Linked DNA regions of Homo sapiens: region 2 is linked to region 1. The links are contacts of gene promoters, found by promoter capture Hi-C in human tissues and cell types (Jung and others, 2019). All regions are on one chromosome and are shown on one strand. The core of a region is centred on a gene start or on the middle of the fragment in contact, and the rest is flanking DNA. Distances in the headings are between cores, read along the strand shown.

What was found. The method cuts DNA at HindIII sites, captures the fragments that hold promoters and counts their contacts. A contact is called where the count stands out against the background at its distance.
Region 2: a fragment that was not itself captured here is called in contact with the fragment with the promoter of FA2H in region 1 in 1 of the 25 tissues and cell types used here (IMR-90 fibroblasts).

What each region holds. Positions count from the first base shown.
Region 1 is chr16:74,769,961-74,776,145 of GRCh38, forward strand. It overlaps FA2H (fatty acid 2-hydroxylase), which reads right to left and starts at 4,860. Exons shown (of 7, transcript NM_024306.5): 1 at 4,526-4,860. The coding sequence starts at 4,795. RefSeq lists enhancers at 1,042-1,121, 1,917-2,206 and silencers at 4,497-4,546, 4,587-4,956, 4,967-5,096, 5,107-5,166. The HindIII fragment of the contact is 21,235 bases long and covers 1-6,185 here.
Region 2 is chr16:74,804,492-74,810,724 of GRCh38, forward strand. No RefSeq gene overlaps it. Among named protein-coding and RNA genes, the nearest start is that of FA2H, 33 kb to the left of the region's middle. The HindIII fragment of the contact is 7,167 bases long and covers 1,343-6,233 here.

The DNA of each region.
Region 1 (6,185 bases), core at 3,610-6,109:
GTGTGAATGTGTGTACCTACAGAGGGTGCAGCAAAGTGGGGTGCAGGGGGAACAAACGGGTCCAGGCCTTCTCCCTGGGGGAAGGGCCAGGATGCTCCCATCCAAGGGCTAAACCAGCAGGACAGGGCCCTAGGAGGGGCACCATTCAGAAACGAGCCCCAAACAACAGAGCTGGTTCATGGCACTCCCCTTCCCCAGCAAAAGCCTCCTGCTCCTCCAGAGACAGGGGGCTCTAACCACAAGGGTGTCAGCATCCCTGGTCCAGCAGGAGAGGAGGGAAGTGCAAAAGGCAGCTTGAGGCTTGCTAGAAGGGCTTAGCTAGGGAGAAGAACAGAAATTGTCTCCAGCCAGGCATCTCTTTGAAAGGATATCCCACCCCCAGATTTCTCCTTTGACAACCTCTCCCACAAGTTTTTTGTTTGTTTGTTTGTTTTTGAGACAGGGTCTTGCTCTGTCACCCAGGCTGGAGAGTACAGTGGTGTGATCTGGCTCACTGCAACTTCCGCCTCCTGGGCTCCAGTGATCCTCTCACCTCAGCCTCCTGAGTAGCTGGGACTGCAGGCACGAGCCACCACACCCAGCTAATTTTTTGTAGAGACGGGGTTTCACCATGTTGCCCAGGCTGGTCTCGAACTCCTGGGCTCAAGTGATCCACCCACCTTGGCCTCCCAAAGTGCTGGAATTATAAGCATGAGCCACTGTGCCCAGCCTTCCTCTCTCTCAATTTAAAGACAACCCTGTACTAGTTCTTAGGTTAGAACTCTGAAGGCAGAAGCTGGCAGCCCAGTGGAGGGCTGGGCTAGTGTGACCATTGTCAAGTTTGGGCTATGCGTCTGCAGATGCATTGTTTTGAGTTTTGTTCCACATGCTCAGGTTGGGGCCCAGAAGTAAGGATGTCTGCAGCATGGCCCGCCCTCGGGCTCTTAGGCAACAGATGAGCATACAGGTCAGAAGCACATGTGAGACTGGGTCCCTGGGTCCCTCTCTAAGCATCAGACAAGGCAAACCATGGTGCTAGGTGGTTAGCAGAGCTGGGAGGTGGGACCATCCAGGGCAGCTGGCCAGGGGTGGCTGTAAGCATACTCAGGATGGTGTTGCGAGGACGAGCCACACCCTAAGGCTCCTTTCTAGAGGATACAGTGACAACACAGGGCGGGCCCATGAGCCACCGCAAACCTGTCAGTCTCAACCTCTCTTATTTCCTGCACTCAGTTTTTCTTTTCTTTTCTTTTTCCTTTTCTATTTTTTTGTGACAAAATCTTACCTGTCACCCAGACTGGAATGCAGTGGTGCGATCTCAGCTCACTGCAACTTCTGCCTCCTGGGTTCAAACGATTCTCTTACCTCAGCCTCCCGAGCAGCTGGGATTACAGGCATGCACCACCACGCCCAGCTAATTTTTGTATTTTTAGCAGAGATAAGATTTTACCGTGTTGCCCAGGCTGATGTCGAACTCCTGACCTCAAGTGATCAGCCTGCCTCAGCCTCCCAAGCAGCTGGGAGGGCACCACCACACCCAGTGCACAACCACACCCGGCTAATTTTTTGTATTTTTAGTAGGGACAGCGTTTCACCATGTTGGCCAGACTGGTCTCAAACCCCTGACCTCAAGTGATCCACCCGCCTTACCCTCCCAAATTCCTGGGATTACAGGTATGAGCCACCGTGCCTGGCCTCCTGCACTCAGTTTTTCTTATATCTTCTTCTAAACCCTTCAGCATGAGCCGACACCAAACACCAACCTCTCAGATTAAACTGGGCCCTCACCACACAATGCTGAGTCCCAGCATATTGTCTAGAGACTCTCCCGAATTCATCCCCCTTCCCCCCATGGTCACAGCCACTGCAGTGGCAGCCATGCAGCAGCATCCTGCCTGATCTCCTCACACCCACTTAGGCTGTCTCTGTTCCTCCTTGAAACTGCAGCCAGCGTCCTCTTCTAAAGATGCAAATCTGACCATGAACCCTGCCTGAACCTCTTCCCTGGCTTCCTTTTTTTTTTTTTTTTAAGATGGAGTCTTGCTCTATTGCCCAGGCTGAAGTGCAGTGGCGTGATCTTGGCTCACTGCAACCTCCACCTCCCGGGCTCACCTGGCTTCCCATTTTTGTTAGAGTCAAGTCCCAAATCCTGACCACAGCCTACGAAGCCCCGTGTGATGTGGCCCCGGCCGACTTTTGGCCTCCCCCCACATCCCTGTCTTTGCCCATCAGCCTCTGGCCACGTTGGTTTTATTTGCAGTCTTTTACTATGTCAAGCTCTTCCTGCCAGAGCCTTCACACGTGCTGTTCCCTTTGCCCAAAATATTCTTCCTGCTACATGCCACCTGGCTAAGCCCAGCCTATCAATCAGCTCTCAGTGTCAATGTCGCTTTCTCAAGAAGGCTCTCTATGCTCCTCCCCTCTAGATCCGTACTCTGATACACCATTAATTAAGCAACTATCATGTGATCTGTGTGTTCCCTCTCCTTCCCCATTATCCCATTAGCTCCATGAAGACAGGAACCGAATTCGTTTTGTTCATTGATATCTCCCCACACCCAGCACAGTGCTGTCAACCCATTAAGGAACCAGTTCCATGACTGAATAAATGATGGAGAAATTAGGCAGGATGACCCAATGAAAAGCCACCTGAAACAGTGGGTGCTAAGTCCTTTCAACCAAAGATCTAAGAGTAGTTGCTGGGCTCATCTTGAAAGCAAGAGTTAGAAGCAGGGGACAATTGTTGGTTTTCAGGAGTCCCCCTTATCCACGGTTTCACTTTCCATGGTTTCAGTAACCCACGGTCAACCTGGGTCCAAAAACATAATTAAATGGAAAATTCCAGAAATAATTTATAAGTTTTAAATTACTTTTCAATAGTAGCCAATGCCACATCACCACACCTGTCATTCACCTCACTCCAACCCATCATGTAGGCATCTTATTATCTTTTTTTTTTTGAGGTGAGCTCTCACTCTGTTGCTCAGGCTGGAGTGCAGTGGCATGATCATGGCTCACTGCAGCCTCCACCTCTCAGGTGATCCTCCCACCTTAGCCTCCCAAGTAGCTAGAATTATAGCCACATGCCACCACACCCGGCTAATTTTGGTATTTTTTGTAGACACAAGGTCTCCCTATGTTGCCCAGGCTGGTCTTGAACTCCTGGGCTCGAGCGATCCTCTTACCTCGGCCTCCCAAAGTGCTAGGATTACAGATGTCAGCCACTTTGCCTGGCCTCATGTTATCATCTTACATTATCACAAGAAGAGTGAGTACAGTACTATAAGATGTTTTGAGAGAAAGGGACCACATACAAATAGCTCTTATTACAGTATATTGTTGTAACTATTCTATTATTGTTGTTGTTAATCTCTTCCTATTGTTCTTAATTTATAAATTTAACTTTATCATAGATATGCATATATGGGAAAAAACATAGCATATATAGGATTCGGTACTATCTGTGGTTTTAAGGATCCACTGAGGGTCTTGAAATGTATCCCCTTGGACAAGGGGGAACTACTGTATATCTAAGCATGATGGCCCCATACCAGTCCCAGAGCCAGGCCTGGGGAACATCAAGAGAGTCGCTTTGCCTCTGGCCTGAGCCTACCTGGAATCCTGTGGACTAGGTCTGTCTCCTCCACCCGAAGACTTTTGGGATGGAGCCAGCATTGATTTTGGAGTCAGATACATGTGGCTTTCCCACTATTTAGCTATTTGACCTTAGGCGCATTAATCAGAGCCTCCCTGAGCCTCAGATTCCATATCCTGAAATGGGAATAACAAAACCTGCCCCAGGTTGAGTTAAGGACTTAAATACCATCGGGAGCTGGTACTGCACAGAAGCGTGCAGCTCAGCACACAGTCTGGTCCAAAGTGCTGGTCCCTTTTCCTTGGCAAAACTGGCTCATGCCTTTCATTTCACTCTTTTGGAGTCCCAAGCCAGCGTGTAGGACAAGAATATAAGGGAAGGTCTGAGAGGTTGGAGGACACAGTCCACCCCAGACATGGCCCAGGCAAGGCCAGGGCGGCACCAGGAAACCCAAGCTAGTGAGAAGAGTTACTGATCTGTGCCTCTTTGAAGCAGAAGTGAGGTGGGATGGGGAGGTGGGAACAGGTTGAGCCCATTATCCAAACAGAAACGGAGAGTGGTTGCAAAGAGGGAGAGGCCGATAAGTGAAGAGGAAGGAAAGCCGAGGCGTATGGGGGGCTGGGGACAGAAACGGGAATCCAGGTTGTCGGAGGGCAGGGGCTGCAGAAGGAACACGCTGGAAGGAGGGGTGCTGGGGAAATGGGAGAGCTGGCACGGAGGCGGGCCAGGCGGTAAGGGTGGAAAGGAAGAGCAAGTTCCTGGAGAGAGGAAGGAGGGGTTGGAGGGGACGACAGTGACCTGTTGCCTGGAGAGAAGAGAGGGAAAGCGAGGGAAGGGAGGGCAGAAGCTGTCACCTTGGGTCCTGCTAGAGGGCAAGTGAACGGGGCTCGCCCGGGAGTGGAAGGCTGACGGAGGCCTGGGTTGGGGTGGGGGGCCCCGGCCCGGCTGTACCTGCTGCTCCCCGCGGAGCTCTCCCACGTAGTACTGCTCCAGCCAGCGGCGCGCGTTGGCCGAGTGCCTGTGCGGCGGCCCGTCCAGGTCGGCGCTGATGTCCTGGCCCGCCCTGGCCCGCAGCAGCTGCTCGCCCCCCGGGTGGTGCCGCACGAAGCTGGAGAGGTCGTAGAGGCGGGCCCCGCGGCGGACCCAGCACGCGCCGGCCGCCAGGCGCCGCTGGACCTCGGAGGGCGAGAAGGAGGCGGCGGGGGGCGGAGCGGGGGCCATGGCCGGAGACCGCAGCTCCCAGCGCGCAGCCCGGCGTCTGCTCTGCTGCCACCCTGAGCGCCTCTAACATCCCGGGAGCCCCGCGGCCGTTCCGGGCGGGCCGCCACCGCACCTGCTCATTTGCATACCGCGCTCCCATTGGCCGGCCGGGAGCCCCGGCAGAGCCGCGAGGGGCGGGCCCGGCGCCGGGAGCTGCGCGCCAGGTGGCCGCGGACAGGGAGTGCCGCGCCCGCCAGGTGTGTCCCGCGCGGGAGGAGGGTGGGCGGACACAGGCGGAGCGAGTCTCCCCGTCGCGGGTGGTTGTCTGGGCGGACATCCTCGGTGGCCTGATCGCTGCTGGAATAACTTCAACTGCTTCCACGGAGGAGCTGGCCGCATGGGACCCTCTGGCTCCAGGAGGTGCCCGAGAGAGCGAGAGGCGAATGAGGTGCTCGCCTCGGGTGCAAATATTTGTTTGTTTTTAAAATTTCAGTAGCTTTTGGGGTACCAGTGGTTTTTGGTTACATGGAGGAATTGTATAGTGGTAAGTCCTGAGATTTTAGTCCACCTGTCCCCCGAGTAGTGTACATTATACCCAATGTGTAGGGTTTTGTGTGTGTGTGTGTGTTACACCCCCTCCCATTCTCCCTATTGTCCATTATATCACTCTGTATGCCTTTGCGTCCTCATAGCTTAGTTCCTACTTATGAGTGAGAACATACAGTGTTTGGTTTTCCATTCCTGAATCACTTTCACTTAGAATAATGGCCTCCAGCTCCATGCAAGTTGCTGCAAAAGACTTCATTTCGTTCCTTTTTATGGCTGAGTAGTATTCTATCGTGTATATCAACTACATTTTCTTTATCCACTCATTGGTTGATGGTTATTTAAGTTGGTTCCATATCTTTTCGATTGTGAATTGGGCTGCAAAAAACAAACATTCGTGTGCAAGTGTCTTTTTCATATAATGACTCTTTTCCTTTGGGTAGATACCCAGTGGTGGGATTGCTGGACCGAATGGTGAATCTACTTTTTCTCTCCTCCCCTCCCCTCCCCTCCCCTTCCCTTCCTTTCCCTTCCCTTCCCGTGACAAGGTCTCACTCTGTCACCCAGGCTGGAGAGTAGTGGTGCGATCTTGGTTCACTGCAGCCTCGACCTCCCGGGCTCAAGCAATCCTCTTACCTCAGCCTCCCAAGTAGCTGGCACTACAGGCATGCACCACTACGCCTGGCTAATTTTTGTATTTTTTGTAGAGACGAGGTTTCACCATGCTGCCCAGGATGGTCTCAAACTCCTGGGCTCAAGCGATTTGCCTGCCATGGCCTCCCATAGTGCACTTTTTTTTTTTTTTTTTGAGACAGAGTCTCACTCTGTTGCCCAGGCTGAAGTGCAGTGGCACAATCTCAGCTCA
Region 2 (6,233 bases), core at 3,676-6,175, 35 kb after region 1:
TTTCTTAATTGGCCCACTTGTTATTTAAAAGTGTGCTGTTCAGCTGGTGCAGTGGCTCACACCTGTGATCACAGCACTCTGGGAGGCTGAGGCAGGAGGATCACCTGAGGTCAGGAGTTTGAGACCAGCCTGGCCAACATGGTGAAACACCGTCTCTACTAAAAACTACAAAAATTAGCCTGGTGTGGTGGCGGGTGCCTGTAATCCCAGCTACTTGGGAGGCTGAGGGAGGAGAATCGCTTGAACCTGGGAGGCAGAGGTTGCAGTGAGCCAAGATCGCGCCACTGCACTCCAGCCTGGGCAACAGAGGGAAACTCTGACTCACACACACAAAAAAAGTGTGCTGTTCAATATCCACATATTTATGAAGTTCTCAATGTACTTTTTGTTGTTAATTTCTTTCTTTCTTTCTTTTCCCTTCCCTTCCTGTCCCTCCCTTCCCCCTCCCCTGTCCCTCCCCTCCTTCTCCCCTCCCCTCCACTCTCCTCTCCTGCCCTTTCCTTTTGAGATAGGGTCTTGCTCTGCTACCCAGGCTGGAGTGCAATGGCATGACCATGGCTTACTGCAGCTTCAACCTCCTGGGCTCAAATGATCCTCCCACCTCAGCCTCCTGAGTTGCTGGGACTACAAGCACATGCCACCACCCCAGGCTAATTTTTAAAATTTTTGTAGAGATGGGGTCTCACTATGTTGCCCTGGCTAATCTTGAACTCCTGGGCTCAAGTGGTCCTCCCACCTCAGCCTCCCAAAGTGCTGGGATTACAGATGTGATCCACTGCACTGTTAATTTCTAATTTTACTCCATTGTGATTAGAGAACATACTTTGTATAATTTCAATCCTTTGAGAAATTACTGAAATTCTTTTTATGACCTAACATATGATCTGTACTGGAGAATGTCCCATGTGTACTTGAGACGAATGTATATTCTGCTGTTGTTAAGTGGAGTGTTCCAGGTATGCGTCAGGTCTAGTTGGTTTATAGTATTATTCAAGCCTTCTGTTTTCTTGTTGATCTGCCTAGTTGTTATATCTTTTGTTGAAAGTGAGGCATTGAAGGCTCCAACTATTATTGTCGAATTATCTACTTATCTCTTTAATTTTTTAAAGTTTTTGCTTTATATGTTTTGGACCTCTCTTATTAGGTGCATATTTATTTGACTGACTAATAAAATTGTATATATTTATCATGTACAACATGTTTTGAAATATGTATACATTATTGAATCACTGAGTCAAGCTAATTAACATATGTATTACTCACATACTTATTTTTGTGGTGAGAACATTAAAATCTACTCTCTCAGCAATTTTAAAGGATACAATACATTGTTGTTAACCATAATCACCATGTTGTACAACAGAGCTCTTGAATTTATTTCTTCTATTGAACTGTAATTGTATACCCTTTGACTAACATTTCCCCAACTGTTCCCCTACCCTAGCACTTGGTAACAGTCATTCTACTCTTAATTCTATGAGCTCAACTTTTTTAGATTCCACATATAAGTGAGATCGTTTAGTGTTTGTCTTTCTGTGCCTGGCTTATTTCAATGAAATAAGTCCTATTTCATTGGACTTTTCATAGTGTCCTCCAAATTCATCCATGTTGTTACAAATGACAATATTTCCTTCTTTTTAAGGCTGAATAGTATTCCAATATGTATAAGTACCACATTTTCATTATCCATTTATCTGTTGATGGACAATTAGGTTGATTCCATATCTTTGCTATTGTGAATAATGCTGCAATGAACATGGAATATATAAATGTTAGGCCTTCCTGATGGATTGACTGATTTTTAATTGACAAATAAAAATTGTATATATGTATGGTGCTATGAAAGGAAAATAAATCTTGGGGCCCCCAAATCACTAAACTAAAGGGAAAAGTCAAGCTGGGAACTGCTTAGGGCAAACTTGCCTCCCATTGTATTCAAATCATCCGTCTGCTCACTGAGATAAATGCATATCTGATTGCCTCCTTTCGAGAGGCTAATCAGAAACTCAAAAGAATGCAACTGTTTGTCTCTCACCTACCTGTGACCTGGAAGTCCCCTCCCTGCTTCGAGTTGCCCTGCCTTTCTGGATGGAACCAATGTGCATTTTATATATATTGATTGAGGTCTCATGTCTCCCTAAAATATATAAAACCAAGCTATGCCCCAACCACCTTAGCCACATGTCAGGACCTCCTGAGGCTGTGCCATGGGCACATGTTCTCAACCTTGGCAAAATAAACTTTTTAAATTAACTAAGACCTGTCTCAGATATTTGGGGTTAACATTTATGGTAACCACAAAGGAATTCTGAGTGGAGATGCCCCTGACCTTTGACAAATCTCCTATTGGTGCTTGGTATCAGCTTGAGCTATCTTTATGGCTCAAACCAATAGGACAATTTGCTGAGGCCTGGAAGTGTTATGAGATCTTTGGGGTGTTGATTTTTCTTTCCAGAAACCTCTGTGGCTGGTGACGCTTTTGCCCGAGTTTTTGTCCTGCATCCAGGAAGAATGAGGTATGCAGAGAAGTGAATGGTGATGAAGATGAAGAAGAATTTTATTTAGTGTTAGAATGGCTCAGAAGAGACCGGAAGTGGGTAGCTCCTCTCTGTAGGCAGGTCATCCCATGGAGTGTTCAGCTGTCAGCAAAGAGGAGGCCCTGGAGGGGGTAGCTCTTCTCTGCCCACTGGTCATCCTGCTGTCTGCTGTTCTCAGCAGAGAGGAGGCTCTGAAGAGGGTGGCTCCTCTTTGTAGGCAGGTTGTTCAGATGTCTCTGCAGGCCTCTGAAGCTCTCAGCAAAGAGGATAGCTCCTCTCTGCAGGTAGTTATCCCCTTCCTCTCTCTGTCCTCTGGTCTTTGCCCTGCTGTGGCCGAGCCCAGGGCTTTTATGGACCTGAGCGGGGAGGAAATGCATGCCAATTGGTGGATGCGCAGCCATGGGCAGGCCCAGAGGAGGCGCTTCAAGTCCCTACTCTGGTCTGTGTGACTGGCAGCCTGCCCCCAGCTGTCAGGCCCTCCCTGGTCTGAAGGTGGGACCTTACTGGGGATCCGCCTGCTTCTGCCCAGGACTCTGCCTCCCGCTGCCATTCAAGGCCCCAGGGCTCTGCTCCAACCCTGCTCCAAGACCAGTGCCCTCCCCAGGAGAGGAGAGAGGCCAGGCAATGGGAGTAAACACCCGCCAAGACAGCAGGGAGCACAGGAGGGTGGGCCTCCTTCCTGATCCATAGAACAGGAAGGCCTAGGTCTGCAGTTTGGGTGGCTGCAGCGGCACCCAAGGAGCTCCTGCCCCAACTCAGAAGGAGCGGGGTTCCCATGGGCTCCATGGAGTGTGCAGCCCCAGCCAGCCTCCCTCCTGCAGCCACTTAGAAGCACCTCCTCCAGAGAATCCCTGATCTCCCAAAATTTGGTCAAGATCTAAACTTTATTTTTCTGTACAACTCCTTTTTTTTTTTTTTTTTTTTTTGGAGTTTTACTTGCTTTTAACACAAGGAAGGCAAGTTTTTCCTGTTTCCATGACAATGGACGGCAGGTAATTCCTTTATGGAGTTTGAACTCGCTCCCAACAGGGAAGACGAGTTTGAGTTTTTCCTGCTTCTAGGATGGTAGAGAGCAGGCTTTGGCCTGAGACCCATCCCTACGTAAATAACTGAATTGGGGTTTGCCTTGGCTAAAGTTAAAATTAACAACCAGCTGGTCTTAATTTCTCCTTACCATTAGAGCGCTCAGCAATCATGTAAGTTGTGCAATCGTTTGTTTCGCTTAACTTTTTCTGTTGTTTGTTTGTTTTTTTGTTTCTTTTGTTGTTGTTTCAGTCTTTTTCCTATCAGGTTTGACCAACTCTATCCAACTTGATCATATCTGAAGGAAAGTTCCAAATTATGGGGAACAAGGCCTTTGAAGTGGCTAAATTCCCCCACCCACAATAAAAGGTGGTGTGGTGGGGGGAGAAAAGTGGCCAGCAAAAGGGGAAAAAAGGGAAAGATTTTTTAATTTTGACTACTTAAGGCTTTCTTTATTTACATAACAAGGCCTAAAGGAAATGTTTTCTTCCAACATAATATTCTGTGCACTGCAGAAGGTCTTTTCTTTGGCCTTTTGATAACTGGCCTAACAGATTTCATGTCTTATCAAATAATTCTTATCCCATTATTATTAAGTTTTGGTTTGCTTAGAAAAAACAGATCAAAAATTTTTTTCAATTAAGGTTATTACCTCCATGTATTTTTCTGTATGTGCTTTTAAAGTCCTTGTAACATTGAGTTGCTGGGCTTTGACTCCTGGGTCTAAAAAGGACACCAAATCCTGCTAACTCTTAAACACTGACAGCAATTAAAGCTTCGTATTCAGGTCTGATAGAAGATGCCAATCAAAATAAACTGCATTCCTAAGACACAGGGCCAGAAATTAAAGCTATTCAACTCCTCAAGGTCCAGGGAGTATCACAGAAGAGGCAGGTGCATGAGATTGTAAGGGCCAATTTTGAGAGATAAAGGAAGTTCAGTTTCTCTATAAATTAACCATTAATGTCAAAGGCATACTGATGCAAGACCAGCACATGAGGCCCTGTGTCAGATTAACAAGGTTTTCTTGAAGTATTAACCAACTCCTTATTAAAGGTTATAAAGGCTATAAAAAGACTTATGGAAGTTATATGTTATGGTCAAAATTAACATTTTAGAGATTGTTTAAAAATTTTGAAAAACAAATTTAATTGGCTTCATGCTATTTTTATTAGGGCTTATTGTTTGGAAAATTAAGTCTCCTCTCTCAAAGAATGAAGGTTGTCACCTTTTTAGAAAACCCTTGAGTTATCACTTTGGTTAAATGAATCACTTATTTTACAATGAACTGTGATCCTATTTTGTGATATCAAGTGTTTTAAACCTTTGATATTTGACAAACTTTTCAAAATAAAATTACACGTCTTTTTATGACCTAATTAATCTTTTTAGATATTAGGTTCCCTAAAGCCCAAAAATGACATATTTGGCCTATTTGGTATAAAAATTATACAGGAAGCATTGTCAAACATGAAATGGTTTGGTTTTCTTTGGGCTATATTTGTATAAATATGTTATTGGTATGTGTTCCAAAATTATGGGAACTCCTATAATTCTGATATGACTTAGTGTACATAGTTAGTAGTAATAATAATAATTGTTATGTTAAATTTTTGTGTGCCACAGAGGTAACAGATTTCCTTGTCAATTGTGTCTTTGACTATAGCTGCCCTAAAACATTTTGTCATCCATGGACAATTGTTGTCTTGTTTTGGTTCTCTTTAGAAGGTGGTTTTATAATCTACTATAAAACTCTAATAGGGGCTCCTGAATGGAGGTTTCTGATAATTTTGGAGATGGTGACATCAGAATAGAGGAAAAACTTTCAGGACTCATGGAGAGCTGAAATGTTCATGAATTTCAAGCAGAACAGGAATTAACTACAAAGACTGAAATAATAGATGACTGAAGTAATCTTTTTGACTTTTTGCTTAAAATGTTACTGATCTTTCAATTTTCAGAGTCAAGGAAACTTTTCTTTTGTGCTATTGACAGCTTTTAACAACTAAGTATACTCCTACCAACAAAATTTGGAGTATATTTGTTTCTCTCCACCTGATTTCTCCAGAATTTGGAAACTATTTTAAGTATTCTTAACTTACGGCTATATAGTTATTTGCATAAGTGCAATAAGAATCTGTTTTCATTTGTAACAGGACATGACTGGAGCAACTGGTTATTTTACCAAGTTTTGACTGGAATGGTTTACTTTCCTTTAAGGAATCAAAGTTGTCTTTTAGAGCCAATAAAAGCCCCTTGGGAAAACTGGCCTCATACCTTATCTACACAGTCCCTGTACACGGTTCTTGACCTGTGATAAGAAATGAATGTCACTTTCTGACTGGCCTGGGAACCCCAAGTTATCTTGAGACCTCAAGGGGAGAGGAATTCACCCAACTCATAGGTATTTGATGGTACAAATCCATGGCTGGGCTTGGCTTTAAAAAAGTCATATCTGAGATTCCTTCTATGGAACAAAGTTCCATCAAAGCCAATTTAAAAAGCCTATGTGAAGAATAATTATTCTAGCTGCACTTTATACAAATAATTTGGCCAAGTATAATAAAGCAAATTGGTCCTACCATGATTTGTCATGATTTTTAGTAAAAATGGGAAACTGGAGAGAGAAAAATTGTTTCAAAAACTAAAGTACACCTGTTGTTAGATTCTAGT